Regions from separate parts of the Homo sapiens genome. Here regions 1, 3 and 4 are each linked to region 2. Evidence: promoter capture Hi-C in 16 types of primary human blood cells and fetal thymus (Javierre and others, 2016). All regions are on one chromosome and are shown on one strand. The core of a region is centred on a gene start or on the middle of the fragment in contact, and the rest is flanking DNA. Distances in the headings are between cores, read along the strand shown.

Region 1 (2,700 bases), core at 39-2,538, 530 kb after region 2:
GGAAAGATAGTAGGCAAAGAGTCTTCTGAGAGACAATGTTTCAGAATTGATGAAAAATATTAACCTAAAGACCCAGCAATCATAAGCCCAGGTTGTGAATAAAACTAAATCCACACCTAGACAGATGATGAAACTTCCAAACTACAACCATAAAGAAAAGATATTTTTCAAAAGCAGAGAAAAAAGACAACTTACAAAGGAAGAAAAAATAAACTCTAAGTAGGCTTCTCAAAAGCAAGAATAGAAACTAGAAGGCAATAGAACAATATCTGTAAAATAGTGAGATAAACTAACAATGCACCTGAATCCACCACTGATAGAACCTTGTTGAAAGAACCAACAAATGATTTAGTCAAGAAAGAAATGGAGCCTAGAAGCACAGAGTGAGGTACAGGATGTATTCTTAAGCAAATAAATTAGTCAGCAGGTGGGTAACCTGGGCATATTAAACAATAATAAAAATGTTGACAAACTCACAAGAAGACATTTCTCTATATGTTAAAGTATAACTGTCTGAGTCCATTTTGTGCTGCTGTAACAGAATATCTCGGACTGGGTAATTTATGTCACAAACTGGCTCATGGTTCCAGAGGCTGAGAGTCCAAGATTGAGGGCCTGGCATCTGGTGAGAGCCTTCTTGCTGCATCATAACATGGTGGAGGGCATCACATAGGAGAAAGAGAGAGAGCAAGTGAGGGCCAAACTCATCCTCTTATAAGGAACTTACTCCTGGGATAATGGTATGAATCTCTTAATGAGGGCAGAGCCCTCATGGCCTAACACTTCTTAAAGATTTCACCTCTTAACACTGTGGTATTGGGGGTTGACTTTCCAACACATGATTTTTGGGAGACACATTCAAACCATACCAATAACCTTGCACTGTTTTATTGAAATGGGCACTACAATATAAATCTTAAGCCTTACCACAATTATACAACCTTTCCCTTGAACAAACACAGATGGTGGGTATCTCTAATAATCCTCAGATTGTTGCCATGTCCCAGCCCATGACTGGGCTCAATCTCAGACTTTCAACCAAGAAACATACTTTCATCTTTTATAATATCATATCTGATTACATGATAGGGAAAACAAGATTGCCAGATTATTTAAACATAGATATCTGTGGTTACGGCTAATTGATCACAGTCTCCAAAAATTAAGTAGATAGGTGTGGCTTGACATATATAGGAAGAAATATTTTTAGTTTACTGAGTAGACAGGCATCTAATATGAGGATCCGTGGAAGAAATTCACAGCTTCTTTTTTTTCTTTTTAAAAATTTCAATACTTTTGGGGGTACAGGTGTTTTTTGGTGACATGGATAAATTGCATAAGGGTGAAGTCTGAGATTTTAGTGCACTCATCACCCAAATTGGTACATTGTACCCAATATGTAGTTTTCTTTATCCCTCATCTTCTTCCCATCCTCTCCTATTCTGAGTCTCCAAAGTCCATTGTACCACTCTGCATGCACTTGTGCACCCATAGCTTAGCTCCCATTCGTAAGTGACAATATATAGTATTTGGTTTTCCATTCCTGAGTTACTTCATGTAGAATAATGGCCTCCAGCTCCATCCAAGTTGCTGCTAAAGGCATTATTTTATTCTTTTTTAATGGTTGAGTAGTATTCCATGGTGTATTTATACCACAGTTTCTTTATCCACTCATCAGTTGATGAGCACTTATGCTGGTTCTATATCTATGCAGTTGGGAATTGCGCTGTGATAAACATACATATGCAGGTGTCTTTTTGATAGGAATTGCACTGAATCTGTAGATTGCTTTGAGCAGTATCGTCATTTTCATGATATTGATTCTTCCAATCCATGAGCATGGGATGTTTTTCTGTTTGTTTGTGTCATCTATGATTTCTTTCAGCAGTATTTTGTAGTTCTCCTTGTAGAGATTTTTAATCTCTTTGGTTAAGTATATTCCTAGATATTTTATTTTTTTTGCGGCTATTGTAAAAGAAATTGAGTTCTTGATGTGAGTCTCAGCTTGGACATTCTTAGTGTATAGCAGTGCTACTGATTTGTGTGCATTGATTTTATAATCTGAGACTTTACTGAATTCATTGATCAAATCTAGGAGTCTTTTGGAGGAGTTTTCTAGGTGTACAATCAAATCATTGGCAAACAGAGATCCTTTGACTTCTTCTTTTCCAATTTGGATGCCCCTTATTTCTTTCTCTTGCCTGATTGCTCTGCATAATCTCTTCCAGAGTAAAAACAGAGAATACACTTTTCAATTCATTTTATTAGTATTGGATGTCTCAATACCAAGACTAGACAAAGATATTATAAGAAAGAAAACTGCAGATATAAACAGTTGAAGATAAAAATCTTCAAGAAAACATTAACAAATCAAATCCAGCAAAACATAAAAAGGATAATATATCCCAACCAAGTGGGGTTTATTGCAGGAATATATGACTGGTTCAACATCATAAATCAAGCAATGGACTGCGTGCAGTGGCTCACGCCTGTAATCCCAGTAAGTGGTGCTGAAAAATTGGGCATACATGTGAAAACAAAAAAGAGTCTTAGTCTGCACCTTACGCTGCATAAAAATGTGAATCAAAAATGATTAATAGACTAAATGCAAAATCTAAAATCATAACACTTCTATAATAGAAAATTCCCTAAGAGAAAACTTTCACGATGTGGGTTAGGCAAAGAATTTGTAGACATGAC
Region 2 (2,700 bases), core at 167-2,666:
TATTCCTGGCAGCTGCACGGAAAATGGAATGGCACAGAAACTGGAGTCTTATGGGCACTTATCCCACTAGTTGGGGTGGGAAATTAAAGGCTGTGTGTAAGGTGGGCACAGATCTAACAGAATGTGGATTGGGATATGCAGGGGAGGGTGGAGTGGGGGAAGACAGACTCCATTTGGACTTGGTGAGTTATAGGTGCAGCACCAGCATAATGCGCATGGAAGTCCTGGAATCATTTACCAAGAAGGTCCTGAACACAGGTGAGGGACATCCCCTTCTTCCCTGTTCCCTAAGGCGCCTAGACTTTGGAGTCAGTCAGTCTTGGGTTCCAGCCTCCCGCTAGGACGCAATTTCTTGAGAGCAGGATTCGATCTGTTGTTCACGGCTAGATCCTAAGCGCCTAGAATAGTTTCTGGCACACAGTAGGCACTCAATAAACATTTGCAGAATGAATCAATGAATGAATGGTCACGCTCCATTCCTCGGCTGTAAACACAATGAAATCACCTAGCCGCAAACTTGGCGCACAGTAGGCGCTCAACAAGTTGTATTTTTCCCTTCCCTTGCAGTAGACCGCGGTCCCCAGGCGACCGCGAAAGAAAAAAAGGGGTTTCTCTACCTCGCGTGGTCTGCACCTCGCTTCGCCCCCGCAGCCCTCGCTGGGTCGCAGGGAGCACGTGGGCCAGGCAGGCTGGGTGGGAGTGGAGTGGAGTGGAGGGGAGGGGGCGGCGGCCAGCGGCTCGCGCGGAGCCGGTCTCCCGGGCTTACGTAAGGCGCGAGTCCCGCGCGGCCGGCCGGGGCTCCGCGACTGGGCGGGCGGAGGCGGCGCCGCCCTGCAGGATCCGGGCTGGAAGCCTCTCGGAGTGCTGCCTCCAGCCAAGGTGTGTGTTTATTTGATTGCTTTTGGTGGCGAGGCGCGGGGCTCGGGCTCGTCGCGCGCCCCATGGCCGGGGAGCGCATCCGCCAACCCCGGGCGGAGGTGGGCCCCTCCGAGCGCGCGCGGGCGGCGGGCAGCGGCGGCAGCTGAGACTCCGGGGGATGTGACAGCCGCCGGGGAGGGGACGAGACGCAGACCACACGTTGCCCACGTGCGAGGACCGGGCAGGGGCTCAGCCCCTAGGCCGCCCGGTGCGTGGGGCGGCGGGGGCTGGCTTTGAGTCACCCCCGCTTGTGCCAGCTTCCCCGGCTCGGCGGAGACTGGCTTGGGGATGCCTGGCCGCCCGGCCCCCTTCTCGGACGCGGCGTGGGGAGCGAGCTGGAGTTAAGGATGAAGGTGGGACTGGCCGGGCCGACCTCTGACCCCTGGAGGCCGAGTCGGCAGGGCGGGGCACGGCGCGCTTCAGCAGCTTTGCGTGGGGGCGAGGAGGTGGAGGAGGGCGAGGAGGTGGAGAAGGGCGGGGAGGTGTAGCGTGGCGCTCAGTCCGCCTGCTACTCGGTCCCGGCGCTGGGCTGAGGGGAGGGGTTGTCTTAAAAGTCTCTCCTTCCCCCTGTAGGGGCGGCCGGCGAGTCCCAGTGAGAGCGGAGGGTGCCAGAGGTAGGGGGCCGAGAAACAAAGTTCCCGGGGCTTCCTCCGGGGCCGCGGTCGGGGCTGCGCGTTTGACCGCCCCCCTCCTCGCGAAGGCAATGGCTTCCAAACTCCTGCGCGCGGTCATCCTCGGGCCGCCCGGCTCGGGCAAGGGCACCGTGTGCCAGAGGATCGCCCAGAACTTTGGTCTCCAGCATCTCTCCAGCGGCCACTTCTTGCGGGAGAACATCAAGGCCAGCACCGGTGAGGGGCTGCGGGGACGAGGGCCGGGGGCGAGCCGCGTTGGGCTGGGGTGAGGCCCTGGAGGGACTGGGGCTCCCGGATCACGGCGCCCTTCCCCCGCCCGCGTGTGGTCGTGCAGGCTCGTACGTGCCGGGGCGCATGCAGCTGGCGGCCGCGCGGCTTAACCGCGCCTGGGGAGGAGGCCGAGGCTCCAGGGGCGGCCGGTGGGAGGTGCCCACGGCTCCTCTCCACCGCTCCTCCTGTCGCGAGGAATAGCCCGAGCCACCCGGCCGAGGGAACGAGAACTAGGCAGGGAAAACCCGGAGCTTCCGTCTCACGCTGCCCTCCTTAAGGCAGAGCCGTCCCCGTACCCCTTAGCCCTGGCCCCCTCCCCCGAGTCCCTAGAGAGCCGCGCGCCCCCTCCCGCGGGAGCCCAGAGGCGGAGCGCCGCCCACCTGTGGCAGTCGGGCGGGGCCGCGCGCCGGGGAACCTGTGGCGCCGGGGGGCTCGCAGCCTCGCGCCTCTCCAGCCCCTCCACGCAGCCTCGGGCCTCGGGGCAGAGCCCTGGGTGGCTTTGAAAGGCCTGTCTGTTCGTTGTCGCCTTCTAAGGTAAACTCTCCCCAGCAACTCCCCCCCCTCCCGAAGCCGCCGGGCCTGGCCGTCAGGAGACTCGGAGGAGACTCGTTCTGATAAATTACATTTTGTAATGCAGCTTTCCTGGAAATGGCTTCTTGAGCTGCCTCCCTTGGCATGAGATGCCTCCTTTGGCTGGCGTGGTGAACTTGGGGATATATAGATCGCCTGATTTCTTAGTCTGACGGGGTTGAGTGCGTCCCTTTCCCCCTCTCCTCCCACTCCACGTTCACACCAGTTCCGAAAGAATTGGCGTTAAAAGGCGAGAGGTAGCGGTTGTGCTGCTGCGAGGCTCTTAACCCTTCTGGGATGGAGATGCTGG
Region 3 (2,700 bases), core at 152-2,651, 670 kb after region 2:
CTTGTGGTGGCTCAAGGGCTAGGGCTTCTTTTGGCTTTGAGAGCAGATGAATTGACTCATCCCTGACCTCAGCCCTCAGCCTTCTGCTGATTTGGCATCTCTAGCTTCCTTCCCCGAGGTCTGACCTTTTGCCTCATTTCCTCTGACTCAATTTTGGGTTCTGTTCTTGGCTTTCAGTTTCTGCTCTGAGAGTTCCTTTTCTAAATTTCTGGGTCCTCTTGTAGGTTAGTTACTCACTTGTTTCAGTTTCTCTGCTGGTCTCCTTCTTAGGGTATGGCCCTCCATGCTCTGCCACACCTGGGTTGCATCAGCTGCTCAAAGGCAGCATTTCTCACCTGCTGCTGCTCTCCCTGATCCAGGGCCAACTTGGACAAATCCCTTCCAAATGTAATTGGCCATAATCATGTAGGTTTTAACTATAGGTTGGTGGCATTAAATTTCCAAGACAGTAAAATGTCAGGGTGGAAATTCATTGTTTTTAGATACTGGAGGGACTTTCTGTGTTTTAAATGCCTCTCAATTATTTTTTTCATCCATTGGCACACTTTGGAATGTTAATATTTGTAGTAAATACTGAACTACATAGATAATGCTGTTTGTGGTTCTAGGAATTACATGCCTATCCTAGGGACTGAGGGGACGACTGTCTCAGCCTCCTATATGATATTATGTATAGAAATGCACTGGTTGAGAAGCTCTATTCTAAAGTCTCCATGAAAACACAAATAGATAGCACTGGGCAGGGGTTGGGAGAGAGTATAACACCTTAAACAATTATTCTCTAGCTTCTTTATTTCTATTTGCCTGTCAACTGCTTTCTAAGGGTCCTAGACAGCCCTGGAAAAGTTGCCCCAGGAATACAAAACCTTAAGAATGAAGATAAGGACACTAAAGTTTCTGTAGGGGCTGGAGAGGGAATACCTAAATCTATTCTAAGACATGTTGGGAGATACTAAAACTGGAACGAGATTGGGAACAGGCAGAGAGTTAGGAGGCTACCGAGGGAGTTCAGGAATGAGGTATTGAGGGTTTGGTTTATTAGCTGCTCACCTGTAGAGGAGTGAGTCACTTATTTAAATTCATACAGAAAATATGTAAGCATATATGGTGGGTTGGTTGTTAATACTTTGTCAAATGCATGCCACTTAACTAATCGTGGGAGGTCACTATAATTACCATTTAGATGTGAGAGGTATACGGAGGGAGAAAGAAGTCAACAGTAATATGCAAGTTACTATTTTAATTAATTGGGGGAATTGAATTGCCATTCACTAAAGAAAGACTAAGAAAAAGATACAGTTTTGCTGGGGGAAATGGCATGTTGAGTTTTGAACGTGCAAGTTTGAGATATTTTTGCCATATAAAATAATACCTATCTGAAAAGTATTTGGAAGGTGGTCTGGAACTCTCAGGAAAAAGCCAGATCAGAGTAAACAGATTTTAGAAGTGAACAATATAGAGATCTATACATTTTCATTGTGGGCCCTGGAAATCATATTCAAAATAGTATGAAAAATGTGTGCCAGTGTAGTTTTTCTGAGGAGGGGGTCCTCTATAGTTTCAAAGAATCACTGCTACAGATAGATGAGATAGGTAAATTAAGACCTTAATGGCAAATGGGTAGAAATTATGATTTTTAAAGTAAAAGAGGAAAATGAATCAAGGATAACTTCAGGGTATTTTTTTCTTTGGCAGCAGTGCAAGAGTAGGAGAAGAAATTGGTTTGTGAAGCTATGGGGTTAGAAATACTGAATTTGAATTAGAATGTAGCTTTGAAAAATAATGTGTCCAATAGGCAGTAGGCACTGCGGCAAAAAAAAAAAAAAAAAAAACAACAGTTGAGAGATCTGGAATATAGATTTGTTTGTCTTCAGTGTTATGCTGATAATAGAAGCCCTGAGTGTATGTGAGCTTTAAGCCAATTATTAGACTAAAAAGAGAACAGTGAAGAAGTCCAAGTTTTGAGCTTTGGGTATTACCCAGAGTCGAGAGCCAGGTGAACAGAAGGGCTGGGGCACTCTGGGCACTTGACAGAAAATTCAGTCGTGAATTGACTACAGCACATTGCTTGCCAAAGCCTTGCCCGAGGCAGCTGCTGGTTGATGGAAACAGCTCAGGGTGTGTGTCAGCACTCTTCCTCTAGCTGGCTGGACTGGTAGTCTTCAAATCCTTTTGCTCCCTCATCCTTATAACAATATTTAAGTCACATCATCTTATTATATGTACATATGTTTAGATGCTGTAGAGAATATGTGAAAACAGAAATTTATGAAGATGAAATACATTGATAAAAGATGAATGTAATATATATATTCTTATAACCAATGGATTATTTTGTGCACCTTCTGTAATGCTTTTTTTTAAAAGAAACTTTATTGAGATACTGCTTAAGTACAATAAGTTAAACTCATTTAAAAGGCTACAATTTAGTGACTATTGACAAATGTGTTCAATTATGAAAACACCACAATCAAGATATTTCCATTACTCTCGAAAGTTTCCTGGTGCCTCCTTGCTGTCCATTCCTCTCTCTAACCCATCCTTTGGCAAACACTGATCTGCTTTCTTTCACTGTGAATTAGTTTTAGTTGTTATAATTTTATATAAATAGAATCATATAGTATCTGCTTTTTTTTGTTTCTGTCACTCAAAGGATGCTTTTTTTCTTATTGCTGTATGGGATATAGCAAAATGTCTTTA
Region 4 (2,700 bases), core at 79-2,578, 560 kb after region 2:
TTTTAACCTGTGAATGCTCCAGTTTCCCCATCTGTAAAATAAGATAAATAATAATTCATAACATTATTACAGGGATCAATGAATTCATTTAAAAATTAAAATAGTGCCTGGCACAGGGGAAGTGCTCAACTAATGTTAGTTATTGTTAAAATCGGCCAAATGGAGATACTGGCAATTACTTCAATTATCTTTCTCATGAGAATTCTATAAGGTAATAACCTACAATGAAATCAACTGGTATATAAAAGATGCTTGGTAATTGTTGGTTTTCTCTCTACCCCAGTAAATATTAGATCCCAGGTAGCAATAGAAAATATGGAAAATGCAAGGCATATTTCACCAGCTTTAGATCAAGCCTATGTTCACAATTCACTCAAAACCTATCTTGAATCAAGTTTGAATCACTAGCAGAAAAATAATTGTCTTTTCCCATGAAATCTCCTTAAATTCACATGTTATCACCACAGATGATTATTATGGTCCTACATATGCAACATTTATGCAAAAAAGTATGAAATTGTCTCTCATTAATTGCAAGAAGCTTACAGCTTAATTTTGGAAACATGATCTTTGCTCCCTAGGTTAGTTATCACTGGAAGGTAAGGACCCCCAAGCAATTAATGAGATTGCTTATACTATGTGCCAAGGAGTGAGGATAGAATGTTCATGATTCCTAATGCCCGCAAGCACTTTTTCCTCTAAAATGGCCATGAGGAGTTTCAGTTATTTCACTACATAATTTTCAATGAATGCATCCAACTTTGGAGCTTGATGGAATCAGACTGCTAAATATCTAATCCTAACTTGGGTATTTACTAGCTCTGTGACCTTTGTCAAATTAGTTAAACTCTTTGTACCTCAGCAACCTCATAGGTCCTCAAAATGGAGTTAAAAATAATATCTGCCTCCCAGGAGTGTGGTGAGGATTAAAAGAGTTAGCACTGACAAAGCATTTAGAAGACTGCTTGGTACTTAGGAAGCTAGCTATCAGTAAGTCTGCCATTGTCCACTGGAATACTTTTTTTTTTTTTTTTTCCAGGGAGAAAATATTTTCCTTTTCCTGGATAAAACTGTGTCTGCCAGGCCTCCATAGACAGGTCTGTCTCTTTAAGTTTCAAAATCAGTCTGGATTCACATATTAAAGATGTCCAGTTCAAGATACCATTTTCCCTTATATATTAGGTTGGTGCAAACGCAATTGCGGTTTTTGCCATTAAAATTGCTTTTGCACAAACCTAATACATATTAAAAGGTAGGACTACCTCTAGTTGCTGAACCTGCATCCTCCAGGGAAGGACATGCATTTCTGCTCTGTTCATTCTCCTTCCCGACAAGCTAGCTGCCATTTCTGACCTTTACCAGATAGCATCATGATCTGGGTGTTTCAAGAGGACTTGCTTTTATGGCTACTTTTGTGGTATTTCAATGCAGCTTCCTTGATGTTGGGAATGGACTCACCACCCCGCCTTTGACTCACAACCCGGCCCCATCCCACCTTGCTATCTATCCCCAGCCCCTGGTTTTCCAGTTATCTCTACAGCCGATTCTTCACCCTCTCAAATACTTCTCTTTTTTTTTTTTTTTTTTTTTTTTTTGAGACGGAGTCCCGCTCTTTAGCCCGGGCCGGATTGCAGTGGCACAATCTCGGCTCACTGCAAGCTCCGCCTCCCAGGTTCACGCCATTCTCCTGCCTCAGCCTCCCGAGTAGCTGGGACTACAGGTGCCCGCCACCGCGCCCGGCTAATTTTTTGTATTTTTAGTAGAGACCGGGTTTCACCGTGTTAGCCAAGATGGTCTCGATCTCCTGACCTTGTGATCCGCCTGCCTCGGCCTCCCAAAGTGCTGGGATTACAGGCGTCAAATACTTCTCTTGATCGGACTTAACATGAGTCCAATCTGCCCTTCTCTTTTGTGTGGCTCATAGCAAGACCACAGGGAATAGGTACTCGTCCCTTGCCCTGACAAACTCTGGGAGTGCTGGCCCATTGCAATGTGGCAGTTTTTATTCTTCACCCAAAGGCTGCTTTATCTTTCTTGCTTGAGGGTCAGGGCAAGTGTCTTCCAGCTTTAAAGCACAATGTAAAGCTCTCCTCGAGGCCAGTGAATGCCCCATCAGTAAGCTTTAAGGTGACCGAGATAAACTTTCCCCTCATTTTGGATGGGATAGGATGGAGTCTCACAGCAAAGTCATGCTTTCTCCGAAGAAATCTCTTTCCAAATCCTCTCTCTCTATATCCACTCTCTCAACCCTATTTTAGGCTTTACGTGTAGTTTGATATCTGCTATGTACCACATTCATCAAAACTGAGATAGAAAAGTTATCTTTTTAACATTCTGTTGTTATTATTTTTTTAAACCACAACTGGGACCAGGAAAGTCCACAGAATGTTCTTTTTTCTTACATTATCAAGGAGCTGAGGATTCAGCTGAAGAAAATTTTCTGTCAATCTCTATTTTGAAGAACACTGGAGAAGGATCACCTGTATAGAAGTAATTAGAAGTCAAAAAATAGCTGGGTCAAATCTCAGTCAGAAGATGATAGAAATCCCAAGTCTTAAACTGGCAGCTCAATTTAAGCCTATTTACGTTGTTGCATATTTTATTTAACCACTGAGAAAGGATGCCAATATTCAGCCTTAGGGACTTAGTTAAAAGCTTTTTAGATTGGTAGCTGCAGGATCTTGAAATGAATAACATTTT

What was found. Contacts are between HindIII fragments. The CHiCAGO score rates a contact against its expected background, and 5 or more counts as called.
Region 1: a fragment that was not itself captured here is called in contact with the fragment with the promoter of AK4 in region 2 in 3 of 17 cell types (erythroblasts, monocytes and megakaryocytes); the score reaches 6.4 in erythroblasts.
Region 3: a fragment that was not itself captured here is called in contact with the fragment with the promoter of AK4 in region 2 in 1 of 17 cell types (monocytes); the score reaches 5.3 in monocytes.
Region 4: a fragment that was not itself captured here is called in contact with the fragment with the promoter of AK4 in region 2 in 1 of 17 cell types (erythroblasts); the score reaches 5.1 in erythroblasts.

The regions. Positions count from the first base shown.
Region 1 is chr1:65,677,506-65,680,205 of GRCh38, forward strand. No RefSeq gene overlaps it. Among named protein-coding and RNA genes, the nearest start is that of PDE4B, 110 kb to the right of the region's middle. The HindIII fragment of the contact is 2,836 bases long and covers 1-2,700 here.
Region 2 is chr1:65,146,787-65,149,486 of GRCh38, forward strand. AK4 (adenylate kinase 4) reads left to right here and starts at 1,417. Exons shown (of 5, transcript NM_013410.4): 1 at 1,417-1,766. The coding sequence starts at 1,622. RefSeq lists silencers at 584-823, 834-1,333, 1,714-2,013, 2,074-2,353 and enhancers at 1,947-2,665, 2,666-2,700. The HindIII fragment of the contact is 4,960 bases long and covers 1-2,700 here.
Region 3 is chr1:65,812,082-65,814,781 of GRCh38, forward strand. All of the region lies in intron 1 of PDE4B (phosphodiesterase 4B), which reads left to right. Among named protein-coding and RNA genes, the nearest start is that of PDE4B, 21 kb to the left of the region's middle. RefSeq lists an enhancer at 91-320. The HindIII fragment of the contact is 2,879 bases long and covers 1-2,700 here.
Region 4 is chr1:65,707,108-65,709,807 of GRCh38, forward strand. No RefSeq gene overlaps it. Among named protein-coding and RNA genes, the nearest start is that of PDE4B, 84 kb to the right of the region's middle. The HindIII fragment of the contact is 1,579 bases long and covers 540-2,118 here.